Regions from separate parts of the Homo sapiens genome. Here regions 2, 3, 4, 5, 6 and 7 are each linked to region 1. Evidence: promoter capture Hi-C in 16 types of primary human blood cells and fetal thymus (Javierre and others, 2016). All regions are on one chromosome and are shown on one strand. The core of a region is centred on a gene start or on the middle of the fragment in contact, and the rest is flanking DNA. Distances in the headings are between cores, read along the strand shown. Region 1 holds the start of DUSP23 (dual specificity phosphatase 23). Region 2 has its middle 6.4 kb from the start of FCER1A. Region 3 has its middle 43 kb from the start of OR10J1. Region 4 has its middle 61 kb from the start of OR10J1. Region 5 has its middle 20 kb from the start of FCER1A. Region 6 has its middle 39 kb from the start of FCER1A. Region 7 overlaps LOC124904433 (a long non-coding RNA gene).

The links. The method cuts DNA at HindIII sites, captures the fragments that hold promoters and counts their contacts. A CHiCAGO score of 5 or more calls a contact.
Region 2: a fragment that was not itself captured here is called in contact with the fragment with the promoter of DUSP23 in region 1 in 4 of 17 cell types (M2 macrophages, megakaryocytes, M1 macrophages and 1 more); the score reaches 11.5 in M2 macrophages.
Region 3: a contact is called between a fragment that was not itself captured here and the fragment with the promoter of DUSP23 in region 1, in 3 of 17 cell types (M2 macrophages, endothelial precursors and megakaryocytes). The highest score is 8.6, in M2 macrophages.
Region 4: a fragment that was not itself captured here is called in contact with the fragment with the promoter of DUSP23 in region 1 in 5 of 17 cell types (M2 macrophages, M0 macrophages, megakaryocytes and 2 more); the score reaches 7.6 in M2 macrophages.
Region 5: a fragment that was not itself captured here is called in contact with the fragment with the promoter of DUSP23 in region 1 in 3 of 17 cell types (M2 macrophages, endothelial precursors and megakaryocytes); the score reaches 10.2 in M2 macrophages.
Region 6: a contact is called between a fragment that was not itself captured here and the fragment with the promoter of DUSP23 in region 1, in 6 of 17 cell types (M2 macrophages, M0 macrophages, endothelial precursors and 3 more). The highest score is 10.8, in M2 macrophages.
Region 7: a contact is called between a fragment that was not itself captured here and the fragment with the promoter of DUSP23 in region 1, in 1 of 17 cell types (M2 macrophages). The highest score is 7.4, in M2 macrophages.

Annotation. Positions count from the first base shown.
Region 1 is chr1:159,779,292-159,782,974 of GRCh38, reverse strand. It overlaps DUSP23 (dual specificity phosphatase 23), which reads right to left and starts at 2,013. Exons shown (of 2, transcript NM_001319658.2): 1 at 1,608-2,013; 2 at 432-822. The coding sequence starts at 1,874. The coding sequence ends at 637. LOC101928264 (a long non-coding RNA gene) reads left to right here and starts at 3,594. Exons shown (of 3, transcript XR_922193.3): 1 at 3,594-3,683. RefSeq lists an enhancer at 1,121-1,697 and a silencer at 1,689-2,078. The HindIII fragment of the contact is 4,062 bases long and covers 1-3,239 here.
Region 2 is chr1:159,294,082-159,297,712 of GRCh38, reverse strand. It overlaps a transcript of FCER1A not described here. Among named protein-coding and RNA genes, the nearest start is that of FCER1A, 6.4 kb to the left of the region's middle. The HindIII fragment of the contact is 9,514 bases long and covers 1-3,631 here.
Region 3 is chr1:159,395,005-159,398,375 of GRCh38, reverse strand. It overlaps a transcript of OR10J1 not described here. Among named protein-coding and RNA genes, the nearest start is that of OR10J1, 43 kb to the left of the region's middle. The HindIII fragment of the contact is 4,279 bases long and covers 1-3,371 here.
Region 4 is chr1:159,376,717-159,380,230 of GRCh38, reverse strand. No RefSeq gene overlaps it. Among named protein-coding and RNA genes, the nearest start is that of OR10J1, 61 kb to the left of the region's middle. The HindIII fragment of the contact is 185 bases long and covers 1,506-1,690 here.
Region 5 is chr1:159,320,769-159,324,377 of GRCh38, reverse strand. No RefSeq gene overlaps it. Among named protein-coding and RNA genes, the nearest start is that of FCER1A, 20 kb to the right of the region's middle. The HindIII fragment of the contact is 7,617 bases long and covers 1-3,609 here.
Region 6 is chr1:159,339,974-159,343,135 of GRCh38, reverse strand. No RefSeq gene overlaps it. Among named protein-coding and RNA genes, the nearest start is that of FCER1A, 39 kb to the right of the region's middle. The HindIII fragment of the contact is 1,217 bases long and covers 1,076-2,292 here.
Region 7 is chr1:159,356,555-159,360,059 of GRCh38, reverse strand. All of the region lies in intron 1 of LOC124904433 (a long non-coding RNA gene), which reads left to right. Among named protein-coding and RNA genes, the nearest start is that of FCER1A, 56 kb to the right of the region's middle. The HindIII fragment of the contact is 2,769 bases long and covers 618-3,386 here.

The DNA.
Region 1 (3,683 bases), core at 764-3,263:
GTGGTTATCTGTGAGTGTGACATCCAGGCTGTCTCTACCCCCAGATAAACAAGGGTGACACGTGTGCAGCAGGTGGGCCTACACGGAGGGGCCTCCTGGCCTGTGAGCATCAGAGACCTGGGAATGCCAGGAGGCCAGGCTATTCTGGACCTGAATCCTTTTCATTGACTAGCTCCCCCAGAAAACACATCAAATATTGTCAGGGAACAGATACATAGCATTTCAGCATCTTCAAGGGATTGAAGACGTGTGTTGCTGTTCTGGCCCATCCTTCCACTTTCTAGAAGTGTTGAAGATGGGCCTCTCTGAGCTTTGCCCACCTCATCCAAAGAACAGAGATGGCCCATCTGTCTTTCCTGTATCACAGGGCTACAGTGAGGCTGAAGTAAGTTAATGTGTGGGAATGCTTTATAAAGTACCATGCAACGTGCCCTGGTTCGTAAAACTCATTTATTCAACAAAGCAGTACAAGCCTCCCCTTCAATCAGGACCTGCCTGCAGGGGTGGGCTACTTCAGTGTCTTCAGCCAATGGGAGCTAGAGGGTTTAATACTTTAGTCCACTTCCCTTCATCTCTGGCCCCATCGACAACATGGGGAAGGGGAGTGAGGGCCTGGTAGAAGGGTACTAAGGCCCCTTATTTCGTTCGCTGGTAGAACTGGAAGACTGCTTTCTCCTGCTCATAGGTCTCGATGGAGCCGGGTCGTAGTCGTCGGATTTCAGCAATGGCATCTCCTGCAGCCAAGCCCCGCTCCTTCACCAGGTAACAGGCCAGCATGGTGCCAGTGCGGCCAAAGCCCAGAGCACAGTGCACTCCCACAGCCTACGAAGAGGGGGCTCGATGGGTGCCACTCAACTCCCCCACCCACAACTGTTTCCTGCCCCTCACTTGGTTCTCCCCACAGCTCCTTCTTCTGTGCCAGGTCCAGGGCTCTGCAGCAAAGTCAGGGAGGGCTGTCCCTGCACTAGGTGGCTAGGAGGCCTCTGCACTGGCTGGTTCAAGAGCTGTCCACCTCTACACAGCCCTCCACCTGTGGTGTTCAATACAGAAGACAGTAGCCACGGCTACTGTGGCTACTGTACTCGAAATGTGGCTAGTCCAAACTGAGATGTAGTGTGAAAAACGCAACAGGGTATGAAGAGGTAGTAGAAAAAAGAATGAAAATATCTCATTAAGATCACCAAAGTTAATTTTATCTGCTTCCCTGCTTTTTAAGAATGCCGTTGCTAGAAAAATTAACATTACATGGAGCCACTTAGGTTCCATTATATTTGGACAGCTTTACTCTAGAAAATGGTAAACAGCCTCCACCTGACTTCAACCCCCACCTCTCCCAGGTGTCTGTCCACACCCTTCTCCTTCACAACTCACAGTATTAGCTGGTTTTCACTGCCTCTCCTCAAGCCCAGTTCGCACTGCTTCGCCCTCTCTTTAGTTCCTTCCGTTTAGCGCTTCCCTCCCCCGCACTGGCTTCCCAGTCTCCCGGCCCTACTGTCTGCCTCCCCGAGCCCAGTTAAGTTATCCCAGGCCCGGTCTCCCCAGCTCCGCCCGTGTCCCCCGCTGACCTTCCAGGCCCCTCCCTCCCTGCGCTGACCCCGCCCGCTGACCTCTCCCCGTGCGTTGGCCTCGTCCACGATCTGCACGAAGCGGTCGATCTGGTCGGGGGCCGGCGGGCAGAAGTCGGGGATGCGCAGGCGGTGCAGGGTGAGGCCGGGGCAGCTGTCGCTGTGAGGGGGCCCGCGCTCCGTCAGGGACACCAGGTGCCGCACGCCCAGGTCCAACAGGAACTGGTAGTGGGCGGGGAGCCGCGGCAGCGCCAGTCCCGCCAGCCGGCCCGGAAGCACCCAGGAGAAGTTGGGGGGCTGCACGCCCATCGCTGGGAAAGGGCACAGGACAGCGGGTCATGGGGGCCGAGGCTGGCCAGCCCCGCTCCGCCCACGCGTCCCCTCGCCCGCTCCGAGCCAAGTAACTCACCACCTACCTGGCCTCGGCGCCTCCCGGGCCACGTGGTCTGCAGGGCGCCGCCCTCGGGTCGCTCTGCCCAGCCGCGGGGATTGGCCCAGAACCTGGGGCGGGGCTGGAACGCGGAACCCAGTCTCTGAGCGACCGAGGGAAGCGCCGCGATCCCGCCCCGTCCGAGCAGATCACGCGGTGATTGGCTGGATCATCATAATGGGCGGGGGGTTACTTCCACGGGGTTCAACCCACTCAGCTAAGAAGGAAGACCTGGAGCGAGTTAGGAATTGTTTGCTGCGGATGGAACAACCCGGGGTCGGGCTCTGCTGCACCCTGGCGGCATGTTGCAGTCATTGCGTCACTGGCGCCTGCCCCTGCCTCCTCGCGGGCCGGCCTAGTTCTACCTCCTTCACGCTGGATGCCCTGGGGTTTAAGAGATGACAAATCGGCTTTCTCCCAGGACGAGGAGTCTCCTCTCTAATGATTGACTGGTCGTTATCAGCGACTTTTTGAACTGTTCCAGTAAGAGGGAATTACTGCTGCAAGGAGGCTATTCTCATTTTTTCATTGCTGGAACTATTAAAAACTTACCCAGGGTAATAATTATAGTAATAATAATAACCAGCACCAACTTCTCCTGTCAATCCAGTTGCTCCTCAGGACTTATTGAGCATTTATTATGTGCTAGATAGTCTTCTAAGCACTTAGCACATACTGACTCATTTAATTGCCACAGTAATCTTATAAGATAGGTGATCTAGTGAATCCCATTTTATGGATGAAAAAACAGAGGCACTGGAGAGGTTAATAAACTTGACCAAAGGATGATGACTAATGCCTCCAAAATCTTTAATAATATCGCCATTTCCTAAAGTTAAATGGAACATTGTTTTCTCTTCACATAACCCCCTCATGTCCCCAAATATTATCTGGGTTAAACGCTTGTGGGTTTTCTTAATTTTTATTAGTATTTCATATTTCTTCATTTTTCAAGGTTTCCTAGTTCTCTGGGTCACTGTCCCCTGGGCAGGCTAGAGTTGATTAGTGTTGTTCTTACTAGGTGGGGGCCCCTAGATCTGAACACCGTTTCCACTGTCATCTGACCAGTCCATATCCTCATTTGAATAATGTGCTTCTAGCGATGCAGACTAACTGTAATTATGAAAATAGTTAACCCTTATTGAATTTGTTTATGTACCAGGCCCTGTGCCAAGCGCTTTCTGGAAGAACCACATGTGAAAGGTATTTTTGTATCTTTTTTTGTACATGAATCATTGGAAGCTTAAAGAAGTTGGTTAACTTGGCCAAGGACACAGTGATCCAAGCCCAGGGCACTTGGCCATGAGGATGTATTATATTTCCTTCCCTTTGCACCCACCTATGACACACGTCTGACCATTTAAGCCTTTGGCTTCAGCAAGATGGAAAGCAATTTGTCTTCTCCTAAAGATCAAAGCCTGCTCTGACCCTGTGGGAAATACACTTACCATTTACCCAGACAATTACTTTCCCCAGGTTCCAGGAGGTGCCAAATCTCCCCTTTTTCTCCTTCCAGACAATCACAGCCCTCATTAAGCCCTTCCTGTTTGCACTCTCATTTCCTACATAAATTCCTATCAAGGTTACCAGCCCTCCCCAGTTTATTCCTTTCTCTCTTTCCCAGCCATGGCCTCTCAGCCACCAGTCACCTCTTCCCCCAACCCCCTGACCTCCCACTTCTCTTCTCA
Region 2 (3,631 bases), core at 1,106-3,605, 490 kb after region 1:
AATAAAAATAAAAGTTTAGCCATAGATAATTTAAAGAAATTAAGTGCAAGATTAATTAAGAGTTCAGGCTAGGAACAAGCTCTAAAGTTTGAGTCTCGGCTGTGACCACTCAAACTCTTTTTGCCTCAGCCTTCTCACCAGTAAAATGGAGATAGTAATAGTACCTACCTTAAGGGTGGTTATCAGCATAAAATGAGTTAATGTGGTGAGGTGGTTAGAACAGAACATATACTAGTTTTCATGAATACTATAATTATTTTGCAAGAAGCCTTTGGTTAGACTTGAGAGCAGCAGAGAGAGAGCCTCCTTTCCCATCCTCCTGGTCTGTCCTGAGGATGAAGAACCTGGAAGGCCACTGGTGGGTCCAGAAGGCAAAACCTTGTTCTCACAGGATGCAGCCAGGATCACACAGCAGTAATCATGTCAATGAGACAGACATCATCACACACATAACCACACCCACACCTCCAACACACGCATGTCTGCAGAAGTGGCGTTAGGAAGTTTGAAGATCATTTTCAGGTGTGGTACGAGACAGAGAAATCCCCATTGTGCAGAGTCAGCCCTCAAGCCGAATGTAGTGTAGGCCAGGTTTATTTTATGCTTCCTTACAGAATTACACAGTTTCAAAACGGAAAGAGAAATCTCTTAAAGGAATCCTTTTAGGCCGTTAACAGACAAGGATGAGAGATCTTAGCCCAGACCAGGACATTTGCATTTTAATAGGCAACTTTTGAAGACCTAATTTTTCAGGACTCTGGCTAAACAGTTCTGTGACCCGTGTGTTTCTAGTGCGTGAAAGAGGGTATGAGTGAGGATGGGAACAGTGGGAGGGGCAGGACGCATTCTGAAACTTTCTCATCATACTCTGTGTTACCACCTACAAAAGGCCTTTAGGAAATGTAAGTTTATGCATGAGAATGTATGTATGTGTATTGAGGGTTGCTTGTTTCAATGATGAGTATACAGGAGACATTTGTAGCATTAGCAGGCAAACAAATGCCCTGCAATACTGAAGGCAGCCTTGCATACTAAATAATTGGCCTGATTCTGCACATCTTTTCAATGTGCAGCCAGATATTTTATAATTATCTGAGCCTTAAACACGACTGTGAAAAACACAAAAGCATCTTTTGCATTTCTCATACATACTGTATTTTACAGAAAAGAAACTACCATGTATATTGAGGAAAGATTATCCTTGGCTTTTACTGGAAAAACATCCTTGAATTTTTCACTGTTTCAGAAAATCAGATCACCTGTAGCTACACTGTTCATGATATTTGTGTCACCAATACCTTATTCTCATATCAGTCTGTTTTTGTAGCACTCATATTCATGAAGGACATATTTTCCTATTATAATGTTATTTCCCTTTATTTCTTCTTTATATTAAAACTGGGAATTTTACTGATTAAAAAATATATGTGTGTGTAAGTAGCAGAGGTAGATCCAGTTTGAGGCCCTGAAACTTAAACAGTTTAAGGGGGCTTCCTTAAAAAATCCAGTAGAAATTTTTGAATACAATATTAGATATTAAAATTACTATTTAGGACAAGAAAGTTAATCACAAAAGGTTAAAAATATACCAGCTGACAAATGACATAAACATTATAAAATTCATCAGAAAGTAAACAGATATTCCACTATCCTCTTCCTTTTCAAAATATTGTTATTACATGTTATTTGATCTCCTCTTCCTCAGACAGAGATATTGTAATATCATTTTTATAGACAAACTAGAAATATAATTTATTCTTTTCTCTAGCATCATTGAGCACCACTTATTTTCTATTATTGATTGTTGGGAGTGCATAGAGTATGCAGTTTCACAGCAATATTCTCACTATTTGTAGTGTGGTTACAGGTTTATGCCTTACAAACACAGGAATAAATGCATGCTATCAAATGTGATCTGATAGGATTGAAAACCACTGCTAAATTCTGAAGAAGAAAAAAGGGCCAGAGAAACATGGAATAGGGGCCCTGATCCGCAGTTTCCAGTGATATTCATCACAGCTTTTTCCTTTGTCTCTTCCAAAACGGGAAACACTTGCAGATTATCATAGAGGTTCAAGAAAACAAATGAATATTGAGTGTCTGTGATTAGACTATTAGACCGAATATTAGAAATAGATTCAGTGACATAAAATTTGGGACATTTTGGTGGCCATTCCCGTAGAATAGTGTTTATTATAATTAGGAATTTGTAAGTTTTTTAATTAGAAAATTTGTACGTTTTTCATTGATAATAAATAAATGAATATAAATATGGATCATTCAGATGACCATTTCATAACCAAAAATTGCATCTTTATTTCAACATCTGCATTTCCATTTTTTTGTTTGCAATTTACAACTGCATCTAGTGACCGACAAATTAAGTCATGCTGCACCTATGAATGAGGGTTTTATGTTGTTCAGAGACAGGTGGACAAAAAAAGGAACTGACACAAGGCCCACCCTAGAATAGGCTGCCAAACACAGAACAACCCTCTTTATCATAGGTAATAGCACAGTCACGTTGCAGAAAGATATATGAAGAAAATCTTCTCTGCATGACCCAAGGGGCAAGAGTTAATTAGAAGTCTATAGCAGAGAATGTAAAATAAATAATTTTTTGTATTCTCAATTCCTAAATTGAATTTATACTAATCAACCATATATTTCAATAATCTCATGATGCCAATTTATCTTTAAGAGAAAAAAGATAACTTCAGAATTATCAAGGGCTATCTCATTAAAGTTAGCATTTGATCATAGTTTGCTGGTAGAATTTTGGCTAATTATATTTTCTAATTTTTCAGAATGAGCAAACTATGTCTTGAAGTTTATTAATAGTGTTTTTTATAATATACTTTTCCAAACAGGCAATCTCTGAGCTTGAATTATTATGGACAAATAAAGAAATGGCTTAAATATGGATACAGACCTGTTACTTGATCTTTCTGTCACTAAAACTAACACAAAAATTTAGTTTCAGCATAGGAACATTCTTCATCATATATTTTCATTTCTTTGTTCAACAAGTATTTATATTCCAAGCACTCTGTCATTTGCTGGTGATACAAGAGAGATAATAAGCAGACAAGATCTTTTCCCTTGGGGAGAAGACTTTCTATTGGAGAAAACAGAAAATAAATAAGTAAACAGAACAGTGACAGCTTGTGACTAACGTTTGTAAAAAGTAAATAATGTTGCTCCATAGACGTACAAGGACAATCTGTTTTAAATAGGGTTAAGAAAGGCCATTTGATGAAAAATGACTTTTAAGTAGAGACTTAAAGTACGAGATAGGATGAAACAAGACAAAGGCTGGAACAAGAATTTTCAAGCAGTGGGAAGTTGAAAGTCCCCATAAAAAGAAAGACTTTGGAGAATTGTAGAAATTAAGAGAAGGTTCCAAGTCTTTGCTATTGTGAATAGTGCCGCAATAAACATACGTGTGCATGTGTCTTTATAGCAGCATGATTTATAGTCCTTTGCGTATATACCCAGTAATGGGATGGCTGGGTCAAATGGTATTTCTAGTTCTAGATCCCTGAGGAATGGCCACACTGACTTCCACAAGGGTTGAACTAGTTTACCATCCTACCAACAGTGTAAAAGTGTTCCTATTTCTCCACATCCT
Region 3 (3,371 bases), core at 199-2,698, 380 kb after region 1:
ACAATGTTGATGGTTGATGCTAGTAGATATTCTTCAGTGTCTGGGAATCAAAGAGTAATGTATGTATTGTAATCTTCACTGTCTTGGCTTATTTGCAGCCATCCTTGAGAAGGCTTTCCAGATATTTGAAAGGACTTGGGTGTTGTGATTTAAGCTGTTTCTGCTTTAGGGGTCACCCTAAGCCCAATAATGCTGCCGTTCTTGCAGACTGTTGCTATGGTATTGCCTTGATGGTCTTGGGTAAGATTACCAGAATTCTCTGTATTACCAGGCAGAGATTCTTATTCTCTTCCCTTACTTTCTCCCAAACATACAGAGTCTCTTTCTCTTTTCTGAGCCACCTACAGCTGGGGGTGTAGTGACACAAGCACTCCTGTGGCCACCATCACTATGACTGCACAGACTTGAAGCCAGGATAGTGCTGGGGCTTGCCCAAGGCCTGCTGTAGCCAGTCCCTGGCTACTGCCTATGTTCACTCAAGGCCCTGGGGCTCTATAATCACCAGGCAGCAAAGACAGCCAGGCCTGTGTCCTTTGCTTTAGGGTGGCAAGGTCCCTCAAGCCCCAGGTGGGTCCAGAAGTGCCATCCAGGAGTCAGGGACTAGAGTCAAAAACCTTAGGAGACTATCTGGTATTCTATTATATTGCAGCTGAGCTGGCACGGAAACCACAAGACATAGTTCTTCCCACTCTTCCTTTCTTTTTCCAAAGGCAGAAGAATCTCACCCCCATAGCCCCCACCGCCCATGGCCATGAGGAGTACTGCCAGACTACCATCAATATTCCTTTAAGGCCTAAGATCTCTTAAGTTAGCTTGTGGTGAATGTTGTCTAGCCTGGGACTCACCCTTCAGGGTAGTGGGCTCCCCTCTGGCCCAGGGCAGGTCCAGAAATGCCATCCAAAAGTCCAGTTCTGGAATCAAGGACCCCCAAGATTCCACTTGGTGCTTTACCCTTTGTGGCAGTGTTCTTACCTAAGGTGCAAGAAAAAGTCCCCTTTACTTTTCCCTCTGCTTTTCTCAAGCAGAATGAGTTTTGCCCCATAGCCACCACAGCTAGTAACATGCTGAGTTTTACCTCAAGCCAGCAAGTCTCAGAGGCTCTCTAAGGCCCTCAGTGTAGTACGTGGGTATCACTGCTGGTTATTCAGGGCCCAAGGGCTCTTTATTTAGCAGTCAATGGATGCTGGCAGGACAGGGTCCTTTTCGTTAAGGCAACAGGTTCCCTTCTGGACCAGGGTGTGTCTAGAAATGTTGGCTGGGGGCTAGGGTCTGAAACAGGGGCCTCCTGACTGACTGGTGCCCTAACCTGCCGTGGCTGAGCTGGTGTCCAAGAAGCGAGACAAAGTCCTCCTCACTCTTTCCTCCCTTCTCCTTAAGTGGAAGAAAGGAGTGTCTTTTGGAGCCATGAACTGTGCAGCCTTGGGTTAGGGGAGGGATGATGCCAGCACTCCTTTGGCTTCCTTAGCTAGTCTCTCAGTCTATTCCATGCCCAACCCTCACAACAAGTCCACTATCTCTGGGCCTAGTTCAGCCCTGGGACTCACCTAAATGTTGCAGTCCTTATGATCTAGACTGCCTTTCAAGTTTACTTAGTGACTGAGAGCACTTTGGCCCTTGGTGGTGAGGTTTGCAGGCACTCATAGTTCGGACTACTGGGACTGGCAATTCCCTACTGGCTAGGGCTAGTTTAAATGCTCCCTCTGTGTATGGGTGTCAGCTGAGTTTGTTGGTTTTCCCTTCTGCTCTAACAGAACAGCACTGAGTCCAATGCCTCACAATTGTGTTCTTCCTCCAGCACGTAGAGATGCTTGCGAGGGTTGGGGAGGGGTGGCATACGTGATTCAGGGCTGTTTTTCTATCTCTTCAGTGCTTTTTTCAGCAATATGAAGTTGAAACCAGGTGTTATGAGTGCTCACCTTATTTTTGGTGTTGTTTTCCTGTGAAGGTAGTTGTTAACTTGCTGTCCTTGCTATGGGGATGATTGGTGCAGCTTCCTATTCTGCCATCTTTTTCCACCTCTCTCCCTGAGCCTGGTGGTTCTTATTCCAAAGTCAGAGAAGAAAGCACTTATGCATTAATTATTGTCTATGCATTAAGAGCTTTGCTAGAAATTTTATACACATTATCTAATTTAAACTATTATTCTCCACAATCTAGTATATTAATCATTTTATTCCCTCAGTTTTCCAAGCGATGTCTATTGAGGGCTTTATTACCTGTTTGTGCTACTCTGCCACGGCTGGCTCTTAGTAGGTTGGAGACCTTCAAGGCTACCAACATTTTGATCATGGGAACTCTTTCAACTCTTAAAAATTATTGGGGACCCTATGAACTTTTGTCCATGTTATTTTACTGTAGTAGAAATTAAAATGGATAATTTTAAAACTGTTAATTTATTTGAAAATAACAATGAACCTATTATGTGTTAACATAAATAACATTTTTATGAAAAATAACCAAAACAACAAAATATTTAGAAGAGTGGCACTACTTTACATTTTTGCAATTCTCTTTAATGTCTGGTTTAATAGAAGACAGCTGGATTATTATGTGCGCTTCTATATCCAATCTGTTGCCATATCACATATTATGTAGCCTCTGGAAAACTCCTGTCTCATGAGAGAATGAATGAAAAAGGTAAATAATATCAGTATTATCATGAAAACAGTTTGATCTCATAGACCCCCTGGAAGAGATCTTCCCACTACTCTTTGAGCACACTTAGACTAGTGTTTAAGTGTATTGCTTGCTATGAGCTGTATTTACTAATGCTCCCACTCTTTACACTGACCACACTCAGTTTTAGAATAAAAAAAAAGAAAAGAAAAACAAAATGCAAAAAACTTGAAGTGGGGATGAGGAAGCATCACTTCTTGGGAGTTGTGAGCAAACAAAACTAATAAGAAGGTCACAGACCTCTATTGTCTTTGAGCATTTCTTGGCCTGTTAAAAGAAGCATCAGAAAGAAGAATGCCTGAGTGGAAGATGGGGAAGAAATGGGATTTGGGTCAGGAGATTCTAAGAGGGATTTCTTACCCATTAGTGCTCAGTATATGAGTGAGAGCTGGGCTTTCCAAAACTTGTTTTCCTGCTGATTTTCTCTTGTTCCTTGACCCCAACCAGCAAACTAGAGTCTACGTTTTGCTTCATAGCATCAGCTGATAATCAGTTGAGACCCTTTCTTCGGACTGCTGATGTCGAGCAGGGAGATAAACAACTGGATGGATTTTTTTTTTTTATAGTTGCATGTTCTAAGCACACTGGAGTTCAGAGCCAAAAAGTTCATTTAAAAAAATCTATTCAAAGAGAGATTCATGTTCGCACTTATCAAAGCAGTGTCTATTTAATCATATTCCTTTTCTCTTTCTCAT
Region 4 (3,514 bases), core at 349-2,848, 400 kb after region 1:
ACTGCAGTCTTCTTTTGTGTTTAGATAATTTTTTATAGTGAAATGATTAAACTCTTTTCTCATTTATTTGTGTATATATTCTATACTACAGGCATAATTTATTTTACTGCACTTTGCTTTATGGCACTTCACAGATATTGTGTTTTTTATAAATTGAAAGTTTGTGAATCTTGTATTGAGCAAGGCTATTAGCACCATCTTTTTCAACAGTGTGTGCTCACTTCATGTCTCTGTATCACATTTGGGTAATTCTGACAATATTTTAAACTTTTTCATTATTATTATATCTGCTATGGTGATCTTTGATAAGTGATCTTTGATGTTACTATTATAATTGTTTTGTTTGAACCTATATAAGACAGCAAACTTAATTGATAAATGTTGTGTGTGTTCTGACTGCTCCACTGACTGGCCATTTTCCCATCTTTCTGCTTCTCCTCAGGCTTCCCTATTCACTAAGACATAACAATATTGAAAATTGATGAATTAGTAACCCTACAGTCAACTTTACGTGTTTAAGTGAAAGAGTTGAGTGTGTTTCACTTTAAATCAAAATCTAGAAATAATTAAGCTTAGTGAGGAAGCCTGGTCAAAAGCTGAGATAGGCCAAAATCTAGGCCTCTTGTGCCAAATGGTTAGCCAAGATGTGCATGCAAAGAAAAAAATTCTTGAGGGAAATTAAATTTGCTACATCAGTTAACACACAAATAAGAAAGTGAAAATGCCTTATTACCGATATGAAGAAACTTTTAGAAGTCAGTATAGGAGAGCAAACCAGTCACAACATTCCTTTAAGCTACAGCCTAATTAAGAGCAAGACCCTAAGTCTGTTTAATTCTATGAAGGCTAAGAGAGGTGAAGAGACTGCAGAAGAAGATATTAAGCTAGCAGAATTTCGTTTATAAAATTTAAGGAAATAAATTGTCTCCATAACATAAAAGTTCACGGTAATTCAGGAGTGCTGATGCAAAAATTAGAGCAAATGATCCAGAAAATATAGCTAAGATAATTGATGAAGATGGCTACATTAAACAACATATTTTAAAAATAGCCTTCCATTGGAAGACAGTGCTGTCTAGGACTTCCATAGCTACAGAGGAGAAGCCAATGCTTGGCTTCAAAGCTTCAAGGGACAACTGACTCTCTTGCTAGGGGATGAATGCAGCTGTTGACTTTAAGTTGAAGCCAATGGTTATTTACCACTTTGAAAATTCTAACACCCTTAAGAATTATGCTAAATCTACTCTGCCTATGCTCTATAAATGGAAGAACAAAGCCTGAATTACAACACATCTGTTTAAACCATGGTTTGCTGAATATGGTAAGTCTGTCTTAAGATCTACTGCTCAGGAAAAAAAAAAAGATATCTTTCAAAATATTGACAATGCACCTAGTCACCCAAGAGTTCTGGTGTAGTCATGGTAGGAGAATAATGTTTTCATGCCTGTTAACACAATATTCATTCTTCAGCCCATCTATCAAGAAGTGATTTTGACTTTCAAGCTTTATTATTCAAAAATACATTTCATAAGGTAATAGCTGCCATAGATAATGATTCCTCTGATGGATCTGGGTGAGGCAAATTGAAAACCTTCTGAAAAGAAATTGCCATTCTATATGTCATTATGAACATTCATTATTTATGAGAAAAGGTCACAATATTAGCATTAACAGGAGTTTAGAGGAAGCTTATTTCAATTCTCATGGTGTAGATGTGGTGGAAATAGGAAGAAAACTAGAATTAGAAGTGGAGTTCGAATATATAACTGAATTGCTGCCTTCTCATAATCAAACTTTAACAAATGAGGAGTTGCTTCTTATGGATAAGCAAATAAAGTAGTTTCTTGAGATAGAATCTCCTCCTAGTGAAGAGGTTGTGAACATTATTAAAACAACAACAAATGATTTAAAATATTCCCTAAAACTTAGTTGTTAAACAAATGGCAGGGTTTGAGAGAATTAACTTCCAATTTGAAAGACATTCTATTGTAGGTCAAGTGATATCAAACAGCATTGCCTGCTACAGAGAAATCTTTTGTGAGTCAATTAAGCCTGGACGAGGTGATTCACACCTGTAATCCCAGCACTTTGGGAGGTGGAGGCAGGAAGATAGCTTATAGCCAGAAGTTCAAGACCAGCCAGGGCGATGTAATGAGACCCCATTTCTACAAATAAATAAATAAAATTGGCCAGGTGTGGTGTCTCACACCAGTAGTCCCAGTTTTTTAAGAGGCTGAGGTGGGAGGATCTCTTGAGCTCAGAACTTTAAAGCTATAGTGATCTATGATCACAGCACTGTACTCCAGCTTGGATGACAGAGCAAGACCTTGTCTCTAAAAAAAAATCAATTGATGTGGTAATCTTTATTGTTGTCTCATTTTAATAAATTGGTACAGCAAACCCAATCTTCAGCAACCACCACTCTGCTCAGTAACAGCCATCAACATTGAGGCAAAATGTTCTACTAGCACAAAGATTCGCTGAAGTTTCAGATGATTGTTAGCATTTTTTAAAACAGTAATGTATTTTAAAATTGAAGTCTATACATTGTCTTTAAGACATAATCCTATTACACACTTAATAAACTACAGTATAGTTTAACATAACTTTTATATTCATTGAGAAGCCAAAAATTTGTGTGACTCACTTTATTGTGATATTTGCTTTACTGCAGTGGTCTGAAATCAAACCCACAATATCTCTGAGATACGTGGCTACCATGGGGATTACATTTAATGCCCTAAAGTTATAACACTCTAATTTGAATCTATGTCAGCTTAATTTCAATAACATACAAATCTCTGCTCCTTTAACAGTTCCATTTTCAAATCTTTTGTCTGTTGATGTCATGAAATTTTATCTTTATACACTGTGTATCCAAAACAATAAATTAATAATCATTTAAAATGCATTAGTCTCTTAAATTATGTGGAAAACAAATTGCAAAGTTATAAACCAAAGATACAATAATACTAACTTTCAGATAAATATTTTTTAATGTATTGTTTAGTTAAGTCATGTACATAGCAAAAAGCAGAGTTACAAACCATTGTTAAAATAATAGTTTTTATAATTGTCCATGTATTTACCTTTATTGAGATTTTTAATTATTTTGCTTTGAGTGACTATCTAGTTTCCTTTCATTTTACTCTATAGGACTACCTTGAGCATTTCTCACAGGTTAGTCTAGTGGCAACCACCTCTCTCAGCTTTTGATACTTTGGGTATCTTTGACAAAGCAAACAAAAACATAAAGTGGGGAAAGGACACCCTACTCAACAACTGGTGCTGGGATAATTGGCAAGCACCATGTAGAAGAATGAAACTGGATCCTCATCTCTCACTTTACAAAAAAATCAGCTCAAGATGGATAAAAGACTTAAATTTAAGACCTGAAACCATAAAGATTCTAGAAGATAACATCACAAAAACCCTTCTAGACATTTACTTAGACAAAGACTTCATGACCAAGATCTCCAAAGCAAATTCAACAAAAACAAAGATAAATAGATGG
Region 5 (3,609 bases), core at 343-2,842, 460 kb after region 1:
GTGTTTTCCAACTTGGTTCCATTCTCCCTGTCACTTTCAGGTACACCAATCAGATGTAGATTCGGTCTTTTCACATAGTCCCATATTTCTTGGAGGCTCTGTTCATTTCTTTTTATTCTTTTTTCTCTAAACTTCCCTTCTCGCTTCATTTCATTCATTTCATCTTCTATCACTGATATCCTTTCTTCCAGTTGATCGCATCAGCTCCTGAGGTTTCTGCATTCTTCACATAGTTCTCAAGCCTTGGCTTTCAGCTCCATCAGCTCCTTTAAGCACTTCTCTACATTGGTTATTCTAGCTATATATTTGTCTAAATTTTTTTTCAAAGTTTTTAACTTCTTTGCCATTGGTTTGAATTTCCTCCTGTAGCTCGGAGCAGTTTGATTGTCTGAAGCCTTCTTCTCTCAACTCGTCAAAGTCATTCTCCGTCCAGCTTTGTTCCGTTGCTGGTGAGGAACTGCTTTCCTTTGGAGGAGGAGAGGCGCTCTGCTTTTTAGAGTTTCCAGTTTTTCCGCTCTGTTTTTTCCCCATCTTTGTGGTTTTATCTACTTTTGATCTTTGATGATGGTGCCATACAGATGGTTTTTGGTGTGGATGTCCTTTCTGTTTGTTAGTTTTCCTTCTAACAGATAGAACCCTCAGCTGCAGGTCTGTTGGAGTTTGCTAGAGGTCCACTCCAGACCCTGTTTGCCTGGGTATCAGCAGCAGTGGCTGCAGAACAGTGGATTTTCGTGAACTTCATGTTTCTTTTAATTCAGGTTTGCTGGTGACAAATTCTCTCTCTCTCTCTTTTTTTTTTTTTTTTTTTTTGCATATCTAAAACTCTTATTGTTTTTGTCTCCCTTTTGAAAGGATATTTTCCCTGATTATAGAATTCTAGCTTGGTAGTTGTTTTCTTTCAGTATGTTAAAAATGTCATTCCATTAATTTCTGTTTTCCTGCTGTTAATGGGTCAATTATTAGCCTTACAGTTAGTCCTTGAAAATAACGTGTCCTTTTACTCTAACTCCTTTTAAGGCTTTTTCTTTCTATCTTTCTTTTTTCTGTTGTTTTATTTGATATGCCTACATGAATTTTATGTATCATTGAATATGTATTTATCCTGTTGGTAGGCAACTCAGGATGATTCTTGAATTTGTGTCTTAATGATTTCCTCAAGTTTGAAAAATTCATGGCCACTGTTTCTTCGTATATTGCTTCTGATACATTCTATCTCTCCTATTAATCTGGTAGTCTAATTACACATATGCTAGACCTTTTCCTGGGGTTCTATATGCTTCTTACGCTCTTTTATACATATTGCACTACTTTTTTTTCCCTGTGCTTCAATCTAGGTATTTTTTACTGACACATCTTCCAATTCACTGATTTTATCTCCAGTTATTTCTAATGTGGTGTTATAACATCTATTAAGTTCTTAGTTTCTCTTATTATATTTTATACTTCTAGTGTTTTCACTTTATTTTTAAATAATATTTCTCATTCTCTGCTGTGATTTGAAAATTTGTCTTACATTATTTTTTCAGCATAATAATCATTATAGTAGTTTTTATTGCTGCATAACAAATTAGCATGTTTAGTAGCTTAAAATGCCACAAAATTTCCATTGGACAGGTGTTCTAGGCATGGCTTAGCTGGGTTCTCTGCTCAGGATCTCACACACCTGCAATCAGCATCAGCAGAGCTGTATTCCTTCATGGAGTTTGGCATCCACTTCCAAACTCATGTAGTTGTTGGCAGAATTGGCTTTCAGCTGAAACTGTTAGTTCTTAGAAGTTGCATATATTCCTTGCTACACCACCCTGTTACAAGTTATCTTAAAACATGGCCACTTAATTCTTTAAAGTCAGCAAGTTAGTATTCTTGCTCCATTCTGTTATGATAAATTCTTATATAATGTTATATAAGCATGGGAGTGAGACATATCATTGTCTTTGGCATATTCTATTGAACAGAGGCAAGTCACAGTTCTGTCCACACTCAAATGAAGGGAATACATGGGTGTGACTCATTATGGGTCACCTTAGAATGTGTCTGCCACAGTCATATTTATCTTAAATTTGTATTTTGTAACTTTAATATGATTATTTTATGGGTTTGTTTGTATTGAGTTTTTTTTTTTAATTTGTTGAGTCTTAGATCTTTGGTTTTTTATCCTGGTATGTCTGGTGCATTTTTATTACATCTTGGACACTCTCTATCAGAAATCCTCACACTTTCCTGAAAAGGGCCAAGTAATTAATAATTTAGGGTTTGTGGATCATACATAAGTCCCTGTTCCAACTATTAAATTCTGCTATAGTAGCACAAAAGAAGCCATAGATTATACATAAGTGAATGAGTGGGGTTGTGGTTCAAAAAATTTTGGGGTTTTTGTGTGTGCTTACTATATTTGAATTTTACATAGCTTTCACATGTCACAAAGTATTTTTTAAATTTGTTTTCAATTATTTAAAATTGTAAAAACTAGTATACCCCTTGCAGGCTATGCAAAAACATGTAGTGGGCTGATGGGCTGTAGTTTTCCTACTCCAGTACTATATGAAAAAAAATATAAAGACAAATTGGTACTCTAGATTATATTATCTTCCTCTAGAGAATATTTTATTTTGCTTCTCGACAGGTAATTAGACTAGGGGCAAGATCATATTAATCTAACTAGAAATTAAATTAATTTGAAGTTTTAGTCTCTGTGAAGGGTTCATTTATTTCCACTTTACCCTTTCACAGAGAATATAACCCTTAAGCATATGGAAATTTCCAGATACTCTTCTCAGTTTATTAGTTTTTTTGACCAAAGACTACAAACAACAAATTACAATTCCTCAAGGAAACTGCAAAGAAGTGAGATTCGAGCTAACATTTCTGCATATTCTTTCTTTCTAGAATCTTGGCTCCTCAATTATTCACTGACTTAGTAGCTATATCCATATAGTATGGTCACTATAGCATCATTCTAGAGGTGTAGGAGAACTAATTCTATCCTTCAATTTTGTGTATGAATAGTGGCAGGGTGAAAAGAATCCTGGTAAGGAGTCACTTATTCCAGTTCTGTCGCTTGTTTTCAGTTTCTTCATTTTTAAAATAGAGATAATAGTGTGGATGTATATGTCCACTTTATCATGTTATTGTGAGGTAACATAAAACAAGGTGACGGATGCAGAATAGGAGGCAAAATCATCAGCAGCAGCATCACCACTACTACATTATTATGTCATCACTTATAGATGAACACACCAAGGCCCAGATACATGTCAGTCTAAATACTTGACAAGTTAGTCACAACTATGGAACTAAAACCTGGGTAAACCAAATCATTAATCTAATGCTTTATTCACCATTACCAAGATGTCTTTTTAGGTTGCTACCATTAGCAGTACCACCACTGAACACAAATTCAAATTAAATTCAATATTACCAATATAGGCCAGCTTATGAGGCTGGATTTCCTTTGTTTAAGTCCTAGTTTCCCATTTATCAGCTCAGTGTCCTACGGGAAATTATATAACAACTCTGTGTCTGTTTTCTCCTAAAAAAAAAAAAAACAGTACAATTGTGCTATCTTGTAGGTTCATTGTTAGGATTAAATGAGTTAATGTGTGTGCATTG
Region 6 (3,162 bases), core at 435-2,934, 440 kb after region 1:
AATTCACATCCACCTATCTCTCTCTCTTTTTCTCTCTCTCTCTCTTTCTCTCTCTCTCTCACACCCCTCCGCCCGCCCCCCCCCCACACACACACACATTATGCTGAGTACATTTTTCTGAAAGTAGTGATCCTGATGCCCCCATGCATTGTTGCTGAAAAGGGGCAGGAACAGTAATCTGACCAGGACTGTGCATGATAGATAAGGGGTGTCAACGGAGCATATAGACTCTCAAAGCTGATGGAAAAATGAAGGTAGCCCTTATACTCTAAATGGCTGAGGAGTTAGAAAATAAAATGCAGAAACAAACATTTGGTTAACATACACCAGCCTAAAGGCTAGTGATTACTCTGCAAGGAAATAAAATACTCCCATTTGGTAGGTGGAGAATTTGAGGCTCAGTGGGATAAGCTACTTCAGTGGGATAAGCTACTTAAGTCCGACTCACAGATCTAGTAATTGGCAGTTGCAGGTGTGAAACAAAGATATTTCTAACTCCAAATCCCATGCATTTCCAACAGATCAATGCCCTACTGAATGAATTTTCAGGCAAGGTGTTCAGGTAAGAGAAGAAGGAGACAATAGCTGTATGAAAACTGCATCTCAGCCTTATTGACTCAAAAGATGCCAGGGACATCAGGAACAGATGACAATTCTGGGAGTTATGAAAGTTGTCTTATTCACTCTTCCCTCCAAGATTTTCTGCAGCTGATTTTATTATTTAAACATAAAGCTTGTAAGAATACTATATTTCACTTTATAAGTCATCAGCTCTCAATCAGCCATCATGCAAGATACAGGGAAATTATGAAATTCTAATATCACAAAAATAATCAGAAAACTGAAGAGAAAAAGGAAGTATATCAGAAAATTTAAAATCAAGTTTCCTCTCCTTTTTTTCCTATCAATAACCACTTACTTTTTGCAAACTTGGCAGAGGAAATGAGAGAAATTCTCCTTTTAGCTGGTGTATTTGAACATGAAAAGAAAATAAATAAATAAAATAAACAACAACAACAAAAAAACCCTGAGATTAGAACCTCTCCAAAAGGTCTAGTAGGAGAAATTGAAAGCTTCAAGCCTGGATGATCAGCACTTCCTGAGTGTCTGAAGGAAGATTCGAGTATGGTGACTAATTCAAGGTCCAGAGCATTGACTCCTCTGGCTTGGGAAGTCTTCCTGCAGAGTTGAAATCTCTTGCAACCCCAAATCCAGGAACTCTGTTTACTCCTGAAAGAGAAGCAACTTCATCTGCTCTAGAACTCTGGGGACTTCCCCTTGAGAATCATTCCAGGGCACGGAGGGAAGCAAAGTGTATGACTCTATCCCAGGGATCTGATTAGGAATTTGGGCAATTAGTAAAACAAAACTCATTGCCTTTGGTTATTGACTCACCAAAGCAGCTTGCATCTTAGAATGTAAAGTCTATTTTGTTAACAAACCAATGAACCTAGAAGAAACCTGCAAAATAAAATGGCCTATTTATTATACGTTTGAGGATCATTTCTTTATTTATTAAACCAATAAATATTAATGGAGAGCTTAAGTGCGATGAATTATGCTGAGTATTGAGGACACAAGCATGACAAAAACAGTCATGGTGTTTGCTCACATAGAGCTTATCAAGGAGGGAGGCATACAAAACTATAGCTAATCCATTATTATCTTTGTGCAAATTAGCAAAAGGAGACTCTTCATGTAGATGCAGCCAATGTACACACTCCTTTGTGAGCAGAGACTGTATTTATACAATTAGTAAAAGGGCACTCCTGCTTATAGACAGAGGGAGATCTATAACAGGATGTATGGCTTGTCAAGTGCACTGTGAGCTAGATTTTACCCCTCATTCTCTCCCTGATTAGGTGTTCTTGTCCTTGTCCAGTGAATAGCCTTCCCACCTAGGCATATTTCAAATAAATCATCTCACAAGTAAATACATTATTATGAACAAAAATAAATGCTATAAGGAAAGGTTTGAGCCATTATGAGAGCATATAACAGAGAGGGCAGGTTGTCCTAGTCTGGGAAGACTTTAAATACTTTTCTGAGGAATGATGTTCAAACAGGAATATTTAAGATAGATATAGGTCAACCAAGAAAGAAATTTTAAGATAGAGAGAAAACATGAGTGAAGGACTTGAGAGATTAATGATAATAACTCATTCTGAGAAGTGAAAGAAGGCAAAATTGTACACACAGTCTGAGGAAGAGATGATGTTAGAAGGTAATAGGGGATGAGATCATACAGAGTCTTGTGCCACTTTGTAAGGCCAATGTGGAGCCAGCAAAGCTTTTAAAACCGTGAATAGCACAATCAGATGTGCATTTCAAAAAGTCTAGTTGAAATGAGAAAAATGAATTGGAGAAGTAAATTTGGAAGCAGAAAATTTAATTAGGAAGATACTGCAGTTCTCCAATGGAAATATGATGAGAGCTGGAACTAGGGTAGTAGACATGAAGATGATTTTGGCTTGTTGGGACACATAGAACCAGCTCACAATAGGCATCCTAGGATACATGGTCAAGAGACCTGCCTTTACCAGCCGTAGCAGTGATTTGAGTCGTTTCTTAAAAGATGTTTGTCTAGAGAAAGTGCAGCTTTTTAAAGAAGTCTGAAGGGCCTGCATTGTAATCCTCCTATTGTAGCTTCACAGAATACCAACTTAATTCTCCACATGGAGAATCATTATAGCCTCTCACCCAATTTCAGACTAGAACCCTTGAATGAAGAGGTGGCCATATACCTTTAGGAACAGACCTTGTGATATTGCCACAAATATATATTATAAACACACATATCAGTCACTATAAAAAATAAACTCTCATTGAACACGTGGAATCTACTGAATTGTAAGGCTTTAGTGGTAGAGCTGCTTACACTGTATTCTTGACTAACTTCAGAGCCTTCCCTTGTTTTGGGCCCTACTCAAAACTGATGGTATCATAAATTACTTAGGAAATGGGTTGAAGTAGCTGATGTGTAATACGTTGCCAAATGTGTCTATTTCAAATAATACATTTAGAAATAGGGAAATAAATAGGATACATTTGGGAATCACTGGACATGTCATGAAATAAATTCAGACCAACATTTGCTAATTTTAGTTGACCTTCCTGACCCTCTATGCTACATTGTTGCTATGGTTTGAATGTTTCTGCCAA
Region 7 (3,505 bases), core at 753-3,252, 420 kb after region 1:
TCTTGCTCATTTTTCATAGTGTTAGTTGTCCTTTTCTTGTGAGTGCTAAGATAAGAAAATATGCCTTTTATCATATATATTGCAAATATTGTTCTTCCATTTATCATTTTTACTGGATTTGTGTGTTTGAAATTTTTGCAATATTATATTCATGTATTTATCTCTTGAAATCAAACTTTATTGCTTATGCGTTTTGATTAGTGCTTAAAAGGGACTTCCTAACTCCAAGATTATTTTTAAAAAGCACCATGCTGTCCCATATACTTCGTATGCTTCAATATTGATTCATCTGAAATTTATTTGGTTGTAAGAAACAAAGTAAGGTATACAGTGGTCCTTCAGTATCCACGTAGATTTGTTCCAAGATGCACTACGGCTAGTAAAATCTGAGGATGCTCAAGTCCGTTATATCAAATGGCATAATCTTTGCATGCAACCTATGCACATCCTCCCATTTACTTTAAATCATCTCTAGATTACTTATAACATCTAATCAAATGTAAGTGTTATGTAAATGAGTGTTGTACTGTATTGCTTAGAGAATAATGACAAGAAAAAAAGTCTGTGCATGTTCAGTACAGACACAACATTCTTTTTTTTTTTCCTAAACAGAAGCTTTTTAGTTTGTTGTAGTCCCACTTATTTATTTTTGCTTTTGTTACCTGTGCTTTTTGTGTTATATGAAAAAAAAATCATTGCCAAGACTGTTAAGCATCTTTTTCCTATGTTTTCTTTTAGGAATTTTTATGATTTCAGGTCTTAGGTTTAAGTCTTCAATCTGTTCTGAATTAATTTTTGTGTATGCTGTAAAATAATAACCTGTAGTTTTCTTTTCTTCTGCATGTGGATATCACATTTTACCAACACAACAAGAGATTATCTTTTCCCCATGTTATGTCCTTGGTGCCTTTATTGAAGATTGGTTAATTTTGTACATGTGGTTTTATTTCTGGGCTCTTCATTCTGTTCCATTGGTCTATGTTGCTGTTTTTATGCCAGTATTATACTGTATGATTACTACAGCTTTGCAATATATTTAAATCAGGATGTGTGATGCCTTCAGCTTTTCTCTTGTTTCTCAAGATTACTTTGGCTATTTGGGATCTTTTGTGGTTCCATACAAATTTTTAGAATTTTTCCTTTTATTTCTGTAAAAAATACAATTGAAATTCTAATAAATATAGATTACATTCAATCTATAAATCACTTTAGGTATTATAGACATTTTAATAATATAAATTCTTCCAATCCATGAACACGGGATATCTTTCCATTTATTGGTTTCTTCTTTAATTTCTTTCATCAATATTTTTTGGTTTTCAGTATACAAATCTTTCACCTCCCTGGTTAAATTTGTTCTTAAGTAATTTATTCTTTTTTATGTTATTGTAAATGAGATTTTTAAAAATTTTCTTCGTGTATAGTTTATTTTTGATGCAAAGTAATGCTATTGATCTTTGTACACTGAATGTGTATCCTGTACCTTTAGTGAATTTATTTATTCTAACAGTTTTTTTTTCTTTCATGGAGTTTTTAGGGTTTTCTACATAGAGGATCATGTCATCTGCAAACGGAGATAATTTTACTTTTCCCTTTCTAATTTCAATGCCTTTTCTTTCTCTCTCTTTTCTATTTGTCTTTCTAGGACTTCCAGTACTATGTTGAATAGAGTGGCAAGGGTGAGCATTCTTGCCTTATATTGGATTTTAGAGAAAAAGTTGTTTTTCCCTATTGATTATGATATTATCTGTGGGTTTTTCATAAATAGCCTTTATCATGTTTATGTTACTTCTTTCTTTACATATTTTACTGAGAGTTGTTATCATGAATGAATGTCAAACTTTGTAAAATGCTTTTTTCTACATCTATTGAGATTATCATGTGATTTATTTTCATTCCGTTAATGTGATGTATCATAATGATTAATTTGCTTATGTTGATTTCACCCTGCATTCCAGAGATAAATCCCATTTGGCCATGGCGTATAATCTTTGTGGTGTACTATTGGATTTAGATAGCTGGTATTTTATTCAGGATTTTTCATCTATATTCATGGGAGATTTTGACTTGCAGTTTTCTTTTCTTGTGGTGTCTTTGGCTTTGGCCTTATCAAATGAGTATAGAACTGTTTTCTCTTCTATTTTTTAGAAGCGTTTAAGAAGGACTTATATTAAATTTTCTTTGACTGTTTGCTAGGATTCATTCATAAAGCCATCTGGTCCTGGGCTTTTCTTTGTTGGAAGGATTCTAATACTGAGTCAATCTACTGATTATTTTCATCTGTTCAAGTTTTCTATTTCTTCTTGATTAGTTTTGGTAGGCTGCATAATTCTAGAAATTTATCCATTTCTTCCAGGCTATACAAATATAATTTGTTGCCTTTTAATTGTTCATAGAAATCTCTATGATCTTTTTTATTTCTTAGGCATCTGTTGTAATGTCTCTTTCTTCACTTCTAAATTTATATGAGTCTTCTGTCTCTTATTTTCTCTTTTATTCTAGCTAAGGGTTGTCCATTTAATTTATCTTTTTTATAGAAAGAACTTTTAGGTTTGTTAATTTTTCTGTTGTTTTTCGATTCTCTATTTCTGCTCTAATCTTTATTATTTTATTTTTCTGTTAACTTTGGGTGTAGTTTGTTCTTCTTTTTTCTTGTCCCTTGAGGTGTATAGTTAGGTTTCTGCATCTGAGATCTGTCTTTCTTTAAATGTAGGCATTTATGATCATAAACTTTTAGGACTGCTTTTGTTGCATCCTATAGTGTTGGCATGTTTTAATTTTGTTTTCATTTGTTTCAACATATTTTTTAGATTCCTTTTTGATTTTCTCTTTGACCCAATAGTTATAGTGTGTTGTTTAATTTCCATGTAATATAAAATTTTTCCATTTTATTGCTGTTATTGATTTCTAATTTCATTCCATTGTGGTATTAAAAAATACTTGATATGTTTCCATTTTTTTCAAATTTGTTAAGGTTTGTTTTGTGATTTAACATATGATCTATTCTAAAGAATTTTCCATGTTCATTTGAGAAAAATGAGCACTCTGCTGAAGAAAGTTCTTCAAACCCAAAGGAAAGAATGCTAACACGATTGTTAATATTAATATTGTGATTGTGGTGTTTGACCCACTTCTATCTTTACTAAGAAGACTGAAAGAGAAAATAAGACAAATTAAGAACAATAGCTACAGCAATTTAAGGTATAGGCAATATAAAAATTTTAAATTGTGACATCAGAAATTCAAAATATGTGGGGGAGAAGGTAGTCTGTACACATTTTTTTTTATTTTGTTTTTGCTTTGTTACTGTTATTTTCTTGTGATTAAAGCTAAGTTTAAATAAGTTTTTAATTGTGTGTTATAACTATAGGATGTTTGTGTAAGCTTCATGTTAATCACAAAGCAAAAGCATATAATAGATACACTAAAAAAGCTATAAATTAAAATACTCTACCAGAGAAAATAACTTCAATATAAAGAAAGACAGTTAGAAAAGAAGAGAGGA